Linked DNA regions of Homo sapiens: regions 1 and 2 are each linked to region 3. Evidence: promoter capture Hi-C in 16 types of primary human blood cells and fetal thymus (Javierre and others, 2016). All regions are on one chromosome and are shown on one strand. Each heading gives the region's core, a stretch centred on a gene start or on the middle of the fragment in contact. The rest is flanking DNA. Distances are from core to core; before and after follow the strand shown. Region 1 overlaps DCUN1D4 (defective in cullin neddylation 1 domain containing 4). Region 2 has its middle 3.3 kb from the start of DCUN1D4. Region 3 holds the start of POLR2B (RNA polymerase II subunit B).

The links. Contacts are between HindIII fragments. The CHiCAGO score rates a contact against its expected background, and 5 or more counts as called.
Region 1: a contact is called between a fragment that was not itself captured here and the fragment with the promoter of POLR2B in region 3, in 1 of 17 cell types (erythroblasts). The highest score is 5.1, in erythroblasts.
Region 2: a fragment that was not itself captured here is called in contact with the fragment with the promoter of POLR2B in region 3 in 5 of 17 cell types (non-activated CD4 T cells, naive CD8 T cells, total CD4 T cells and 2 more); the score reaches 10.5 in non-activated CD4 T cells.

What each region holds. Positions count from the first base shown.
Region 1 is chr4:51,855,744-51,858,443 of GRCh38, forward strand. The region is part of intron 1 of DCUN1D4 (defective in cullin neddylation 1 domain containing 4); the gene reads left to right. Among named protein-coding and RNA genes, the nearest start is that of DCUN1D4, 14 kb to the left of the region's middle. The HindIII fragment of the contact is 3,411 bases long and covers 1-2,700 here.
Region 2 is chr4:51,838,521-51,841,220 of GRCh38, forward strand. It overlaps a transcript of DCUN1D4 not described here. Among named protein-coding and RNA genes, the nearest start is that of DCUN1D4, 3.3 kb to the right of the region's middle. The HindIII fragment of the contact is 1,059 bases long and covers 843-1,901 here.
Region 3 is chr4:56,977,585-56,980,430 of GRCh38, forward strand. POLR2B (RNA polymerase II subunit B) reads left to right here and starts at 1,312. Exons shown (of 25, transcript NM_000938.3): 1 at 1,312-1,420. The coding sequence starts at 1,402. It overlaps NOA1 (nitric oxide associated 1), which reads right to left and starts at 22. Exons shown (of 7, transcript NM_032313.4): 1 at 1-22. The coding sequence starts at 1. RefSeq lists an enhancer at 1,586-1,685. The HindIII fragment of the contact is 1,293 bases long and covers 1,206-2,498 here.

The DNA of each region.
Region 1 (2,700 bases), core at 104-2,603, 5.1 Mb before region 3:
TCTCAGTGATTCAAGTAAAAGGTTGTAATGCATCCTTTGTGGGTTGGAATGGGTCTCTGCTCCACATCGTTGACATTCTCATCCCTAGTCTATCTGAAACCCATGGAAAAGAGGGCATGTGTTTCTAGAAGGAAGGAAACAAGGCAAATCTAAAGAGTGGCTCCCAACCACAGTGCAGCCTTGGCTTTAACAATTTTTGTTTTCTTTTCCCATATCACGTGGTACAATTGACTTTTCAGGAGGCTGAGCCATGTGACCCATGGCTTGAAACACCCTTAAGCATTCCCTGATGAATCCCAGTTAGAGAGGCAGATCCCTATACCTCAGTCGTGTTCTTGTTCTGTTCCAGAGACATTTAGATGAGTGCCAAGGTTAGATGGTAACCTTTAATTTTGTCCAATTTTGTTTTGCTTTTTTGGCAATAACATGGTCACTATTTTGCCCTTTCCTTCTGCCGCCTTTACAGGTTTATTTCATCATTTTCATCGTCACTTGAAAAGCATTTGTTAAGAGCATAATACTGTTTAAAACTTTTATATCTGAGAGAATTGTTCAGCTGTAGTTTAATAATAAAACACTTTGATGATGCTTTAGTGACCAGAAGAGCGAATTGTGCTTAAAAATAGAAAGTTAACACTGGTGTTAAATCTTTTCTGTACCATTATTTCCCTGGGGGAAAAATGGTGAATTGTTTTAGATTCAGCCAGTTTTAAAATTTTTTTCTTTAATATTAAATTACTTTAAGTGTGTGGTTGCTTGTTGACAGCTTTGGTTAGGAAACGTTGCTGCTTTTTTCCTATTACAGAGTGTAAAGTTAGATTGATATTTTTGCTTTTATTGGAAATAATTTAGAATGGAAGAAGTAGCCTTGGATTGGGAGTTAGAAGATAAGAGTTTTGCCCAGCTTGGCCATAGCTAGCTCTCTGACTCCGCTCAAGCTAATAAAATGAGAATTGGACAAAAGAACATGAACCATTGAGTGCCTCACTTGCTCATCTCTCACATGCAGTCCTGTTAGTTTTTCCTTACACTGCAATCACATTTTATATAGAGGTTGGTTCTAAAGTCCCTGTGTAAGGTGAAGATCATTGGTGTTAAAAATACCACTGGAAACACTTGCAGAAGATTCCTCTTTGGAAGCTGTCTCAGAAGAATCCAGCACAGCCTATTCCTTCCTCCAGCATTGGAATAGATCTCTGGCTGTTTATTTGAGCACCAGTTGAAGCATCTGGCCTCGTCTTCAACTTCAGTTTAGGGACCATGTTTTATGAAAATACATCACTTTAAATACTCGACTCATACCGTATTGTGAGATGCACAAAATCTGATTGGCATGTGGAAACTGAGACCAACAGAGTGACTATTCATGTGTCATGTCTCGTGCTCATTAAGTAGAAGGGAGGGTGGGCAGTTAGTGAGACAACTGAAATTTCTTTTCATCTCGCTTCTTCCTTTTTTATTTTTTTTGACCAAATGAGAAGAGTTGAATTTGTGTAAGCTAAATATCTATTTTCTGCAACTCCAGTGTACTCAGAATCTCTCCTCTCCATTTTTACAGCCAGTGTCTAACTTACGGCCCTAATGCTTTCCCACCTCAGTCACTTCTAGTCATCTCCATAAATGGCCACTCTAAATTCAGATCACCCATCATCTTTGCTGCACACTTGTCCTAGAGTGATCTTTTTAAATAACTCTCCTGATCAGAACACCTCCATGGCACCAAGACTCTCAAAGGAGTGCTTCTCAGACTTCCCACCAATGTTTTCCTGTACAGAGTTTGGTGGAATAAGTTGTTTCAGGGTCCTGGGAGCACAGCTTGATGTGGGGATTATGTTTGTTTTCATGTAAGACTGTCATATTATTGCTGATTAGAATTGATGCTGCTGGAATGTGCCATTCCTGTCATTACGTTTGCATGGTCTCTGGTGCCTGTGTTTGAGGTACAGATCCTTAGGAGATTAAATCTAAACGCTCAAGCAGGATTCACAAGTTCTTCATTTTCTGATCTTTGCCTTCCTGTTCAGTCTCCTCTTACCATGACACTTCTCACATTTGAAGATCACTTGAAGTGCCCTGAATGTATTGAATTTAAGCCTTTGGTGCCTTTGTATCTGCGTTTATTCATTTGTTGAATATTTATTGAGCACCTAATATGTGCCAGGTACTCTTCTAGGTATTAATATTACGGGATACAGCAATGGGCAAGATTTAAGTCTTGGCCCTTGTGGAGCTTACATTCTAATGGGAGAGGATGATGACAAATATATAATATAATGTCAGATGGTATTAATGCTGTGAAGAAAAGCAAAGCATGGTAAGATGATAGAGTGAAGATGGGGCTCTGTTGGTCTGGCAAGGTTATGTAAGGAGGTGATTTTTAAGAATTTTATCCTTAATTGACAAATAATTGTATATATTTACGGAGTACAATGTGATGTTTTGATACATGCATAATTGTGGAGTGATCAAATCAGACTAATTAACATATCCATCAAAGGTGATATTAAAATGGAAACCTGATGAAGTATGAGAGCAACCATGTTATTATTAGGGGGAAGAGCGCTCAAGGTAAGGAGAACAGCACGTGCAAAGGCGCTGAGGTGGGAGTGTTCTTGGAGTGTTAATGGAGCAGTAGGAAGCTCACTGTGGCTGAGTAGAATGAACAAGGGGAAGATGAGTAGAAGATGAGATTGGAGAGAT
Region 2 (2,700 bases), core at 122-2,621, 5.1 Mb before region 3:
ACAGGCAGCTGCCACCACACCCAGATAATTTTGCATTTTTTTGTAGAGATAGGGTCTCCCTGTGTTGGCCCAGACTGGTATCAAACTCTTGGGCTCAAGTGATCCACCCACCTCAGCCTCCGAAAGTGCTGGGGTTTCAGGCATGAGCCACCATGCCCAGCCTGATTTCACTATCTTTTGAGAGCATGTTAACAACCATATTATTGTATCCTTATAAATAATCTCTGAGGTATATAGGGGCATATATTAACCTGATTAAAAAGAGAAGGAACTGGCCAGGTGCGGTGGCTCATGCCTGTAATCTCAGCACTTTGGGAACTGAGGCGGGCAGATCACCTGAGGTCAGGAGTTTGAGACCATCCTGGCCAACATGGCAAAACCCCGTCTCTACTAAAAACACAACAATTAGTCGGGTGTGGTGGCGTGTGCCTGTAATCCCAGCTACTTGAGAGGCTGAGGCAGGAGAATCACTTGAACCCAGGAGGCAGAGGTTGCCGTGAATGGAGATCCCACCACTGCACTCCAGCCTGGGCGACAGAGTGAGACTCCGTCTCAAAAGAGACAGAGAGAGAGAGAGAAAAGGAAGGAAGAAGGGAAGGAGAGAAGGAGGGAATGAGGGAGGGAAGGAAGGAAGGAAGGAAGGAGAAGGAAGGAAGGAAGAAAGGAGAAGGAAGGAAGGAAGGAAGGAAGGAGGGAAGGAAAGAAAGAAAGAAAGAAAAGAAGGAAAGGAAGAAAGAAAGAAAGAAACTAAAGCCCAACACAGGAATATTAAAAACATGGAGTCTGGCTACTTAGGGGCACGTTTACTTATTAGCTGGGTGGCAAGTTACCGAAGCTCTTGAAGCTTCAGTTAACTTACCTGTAGATTGGGGATACTATTAGTTATTAGTACTCCACTGTGTTGTTGTGAAGTTAAGTAGATTAGTTTACCAGTACAGTACTATTAGAGTAGTGCCCGTCACATAGGAAGCATTAAGAAAGAAGTTGTTATCACTTGGGACAGCAAATTCAGTTGGTCATATTTGGAGAAAGAAAACTATCCTGCCCTCTATGGATAAATTCTCCTTTCGGAGGGGGTTTATTTTCATTTCCAAATACTAGAAACCCACCTAGCCTGACATTTTATTACTAAAGGAGTTCTGCCAACTCTCTCACTGTAATCTAAGGCCAAATTAATTCCTCTCTGTCCTGTGTTCTTTCTTATTCTCTTTAAATCTTACCAGGGACACATTTATCTGTCTGTGCAGGCCCAACTTATTTTCAGTCTCAAGAACTATGCTATTCTTCCTCCTACTCCCAATCCCAACACATGCAGGAAAAGCATGCTACAGTGGGCTTAGCAGAATTTAGGGGAAAGCGTAACATTTGATTGAAGAGCTCTGCTGTTTTTTTTCTCTTACTAGACTTCTCCATATCACATTCTAATCTAGGCTTAGGGCATTTCAAAATATATCTGATTAAAATTAATATTGTATGACTAATAAAATAGAAAAATTCCAATTAAATTAGGTATCATTAACATGGAGTAACTTGCTTCAATATTACCTTAAAGCAGTAACTGGGTGAAATGAAATGGCATAAAGACTGCATCTCCAAATATCTCTACCCATCACAGTCCCAAGATATTCAATTATTAATTTTTTTCTCCAGGGATTCAAATATAAATGTACAGAAGTATAACATTATTATCTCAGTAAACCTCTCCATGGGGATCATGTTCTTTGGGAATACTACAAATGAGAAAAAAAAAAGTGAAGTATTGATTTACATATTGAAAAAAATCCTGAATGAAATACATAAAAAAGAAGGCAACATTTCAACCATGAAGCAGACTTGTATTAGATTGGCATAGTAACTTTCAGATGGGAAGGGAGAGTAGTTTACCTATCTTTGGAATTTGAAGCTTTGATATTAGACAGTGTGGTACAGGGGATAGAGTTGAGAAACCTGAATTTAAGCCCTGTTTTGTTATCAACTAGCCAAGTGACTCAGATTAAACATTTAACTCCTTTGGATGTCAAGTCTCTTATTTTTAAAATGAAGATGTTGGATTTGATAATCACCAAGGTTCCTATCCAGATCTAAAATTTCATGTACGGTAAACATTCATTTTAAGGGGTATGGTTAACCAGTGCCTACCACAATATTTGAAAGCATTGTACTAGGTGCTAGGCAAGTAAAAAGATAACTATAACAAGTTTCCTGATATCAGAGGTTTATATGGTGTGGATTATTTAAATGACCAGGTAATATTTGCAGAGCATTATGTAGTCATTTTATTATACTTTGTAAAACGTGGGGGCAGTGAGGGTCAGCCGACTAGGAATGAGCTTTGCCTCTCAATCCTTAGGCTATAGCTGACTCTTTATAAAGATCTGGGTAAATTACCTCTAAGTCTGTTTTCTACTTGAAAATAATCATACTGACTCAACTGAAAGCAATGTTGAGAAATAACAGAGGTTGTACATTCTATAAATTTTTATGGACACCATGCATATGCCAGGCCAGTGTTGGGAGCTGGGGCAAAGCAGCCGACCCATCCTTCATCTAGCTTAACTCTTATACACATTATTATAAAGTATGCTGCAAATAAATTAATAGAGCAAATGACTAGCTATAATTAATTGTGGGCTTATTGTAATTTAGAGGTGTCACGAAGGAAGCCCTTTTCTGTGCAAAATAACATGTGTCTCAGTCTTT
Region 3 (2,846 bases), core at 62-2,561:
TGAGGAAGTAGCTCCAAAGGGGCGGAGCCACCAGCGCGCACGCGCACTAGGGTCCGAGGCGCGCATTTGACCCGAGACGAAAGCGCGTGGGTACTTGGGAGCTGTCCTGGTTGGTTTTGCGTCTAATCCCGTCAGTTCTCGCGATTTAAGCTCTGAGACTGAGAACCTACTTAAAGCTATGGCAAAGGCACTGGAGGATTGAGCTAGGTGGGCAGAAAAGAGCAGTGAGTGTTTTGGGTTTTTTCACTTTCAGGCTTAACGCCTCACTGCTAGCACAAGCCGCCCTTAATAAATCACACTTAAAAAGGAGCTTCCGGGGTCGGGCGCGGTGGCTCACGCCTGTAATCCCAGCAATTTGGGAGGCCGAGGCGGGCGGATCATGAGGTCAGGAGATCGAGACCATCCTGGCTTACACGGTGAAACCCCCATCTCTGCTAAAAATACAAAAAATTAGCCAGGCGTGGTGGCGGGCGCCTGTAGTCCCAGCTACTCGGGAGGCTGAGGCAGGAGAATGGCTTGAACGCGGGAGGCGGAGGTTGCAGTGAGCCGAGATCGCGCCACTGCACTCCAGCCTGGGCGACAGAGCGAGCCTGTCTCAAAAAAACAAAACAAAACAAAAACAGAAAGGAGCTTCCGGCCGGGCGCGTGGCTCACGCCTGTAATCCCAGCACTTTGGGAGGCCGAGGCGGGTGGATCACCTGAGGTCAGCAGTTCGAGACCAGCCTGGCCAACGTGGTGAAACCCCGTCTCTACTAAAAATACAAAAATTACCCGGGCGTGGTGACCCTTGCCTGTAATCCCAGCTATTTGGGAGGCCGAGGCAGGAGAATCGCTTGAACCCGGGAGACGGAGGTTGCAGTGAGCCGAGATCGCTCCACTGCACTCCAGCCTGGGCGACAGAGCGAGACTCCATTTCAAAAAATAATAAATAAATAAAAATAAAAAATAGCTTCGTGTTTTGGTCCTTATAAAGGCAAATAAATTGAGCATCCCAATGTTGCGGATTCACAGGACGAACACTTTTTAATAATAAGTATACCTGGTTTTGTTTTCAGGTGTCGTTATTTGTGCAACAACATTGAAAAACAAGCAGAAATAAAACATTGACGGAACGGATACGACCGCAGATTGCGGGAGCTGTCCTCTCAATCAGCCCGGCAGCGGCGGCCCACAATTTACGCGTGTGCAACCCTAACCCCGGCCCAAGCTTGACCTACAATTTGCGCAGGCGCAGATCCTAACTTTGGCGTCCCTGTGGGCGGCCTTTGGTGTGAGACGCGTGGTATTCTGGGAACGTCGGAGACGGAAGTTACTTCGTCTTTAGCTCCTGGCGCTGCTGGCTTCTGGGCGGTTTTTGTCTTTTGATTTCAAGAGTTAGGAGCTCGAGAACCGTTTGGCAATATGTACGACGCGGATGAGGGTAGGTGAACGCTCAAAACACACGCCGTGGCGGTCCATTTAAGCAGGAAAGCGTTGGGAACTGATTGGATTGAGGATTTGGGGCCTTCCCATGCGCCGGCTGCACAGTCCCCAGCCTTGTTCCCACACTTACCAGGCCGGGAACGAAACTGGGGTAGGGAGAGGCGGAGGGTGCAGGGAACATAGTGTTAATGTTCCAGGTTACGTTCACTGCTGCTCTCTGCACTTTCTCGTTCCGTTAGATCTGATCCTCGTTTCCTGTGGTGAAGTAGCGTGCAGAATCGTAAGATAAATTACGTTTTGAATTTGAAGCAAAGGGCACCCTTTAAAAATTTTCCTTAAAGCCACAGTCGACTTAACGAATAGCTCAATTGTTGAGTGTCAGCCTGTGTCAGGCAGTGTGGAAGGTCCTGGAAATATTCCGGGACAGAGAATATCGGGGGGTGGGGGTGGCGGGGGGGACTCGGTTTAGTCTGACATTTCTTCATACTGTTTGTAAGTCAAAGTAAATTGTCTTAAAGGATGACTTTTAACTTCCTCTTCTCACAATGTCACAGTTCTCAGATGATATGTATTCTGCTGCACTGGGCCAATGTATAATACCTGTTTGTTTGCGCATATGGAATTCTTAGTAGTGGCCGAGCGCGGTGGCTCCCGTCAGCACTTTGGGAGGCCGAGATGTGCAGATCGCTTGAGACCAACCTGACAAACATGGGGAAATCCTGTATCTACTAAAAATACAAAAATTAGCCTAGTGTGATGGCGTGCGCCTGTAATCCCAGCTACTCGGGAGGCTGAGGCCGGACGATCGCTTGAGCCCAGGAGGCGGAGTTTGCAGTGAGCTGAGATCGCACCACTACACCACAGCCTGAGTGACAGAGTTAGACTGTCTCAAAAAAAAAAAAAAAAAATTCTTAGTTGAGTCTAGTGTATTTTCGTAGCCGCCTTTTCCATTCTCCATATCTGCTAATTCAAACCTTATTTTCTTATAGCTCTCAATTCCTTGGCCACCCCCTACATCTCCTCTCTCTATTCCCTCAGGTACTTCTGATAAATCAGATGGAAAAAATTGAAGCAAAAGCTTAATTTTTTTTTTTTTTTTTTAAGAGATGGGGTCTGGCCATGTTGCCCAGGCTGGTCTCAAACTCCTGAGGTCAAACCATCTGCCTGTCTCGGCCTCCCAAAGTGCTGGGATTACAAGCATGAGCCAATGTGCCCAGCCAAAAGCTTAAACTTTTAAAGCTGTTTAAACTTCTGTCTCATTTATATCTTGTGTTGTAGAAATTTATTAGCATCATTATATTCCTTGTTCTTTTTTAACTACTATCTCAGTAGAAGAAAAATTCGAAAAAAAAGATTTTTAAAGCATAATTTTTGGCTGGGTAATATATTCTCATAGCTCACAAGCCAGAAAATTTAAAAATGTT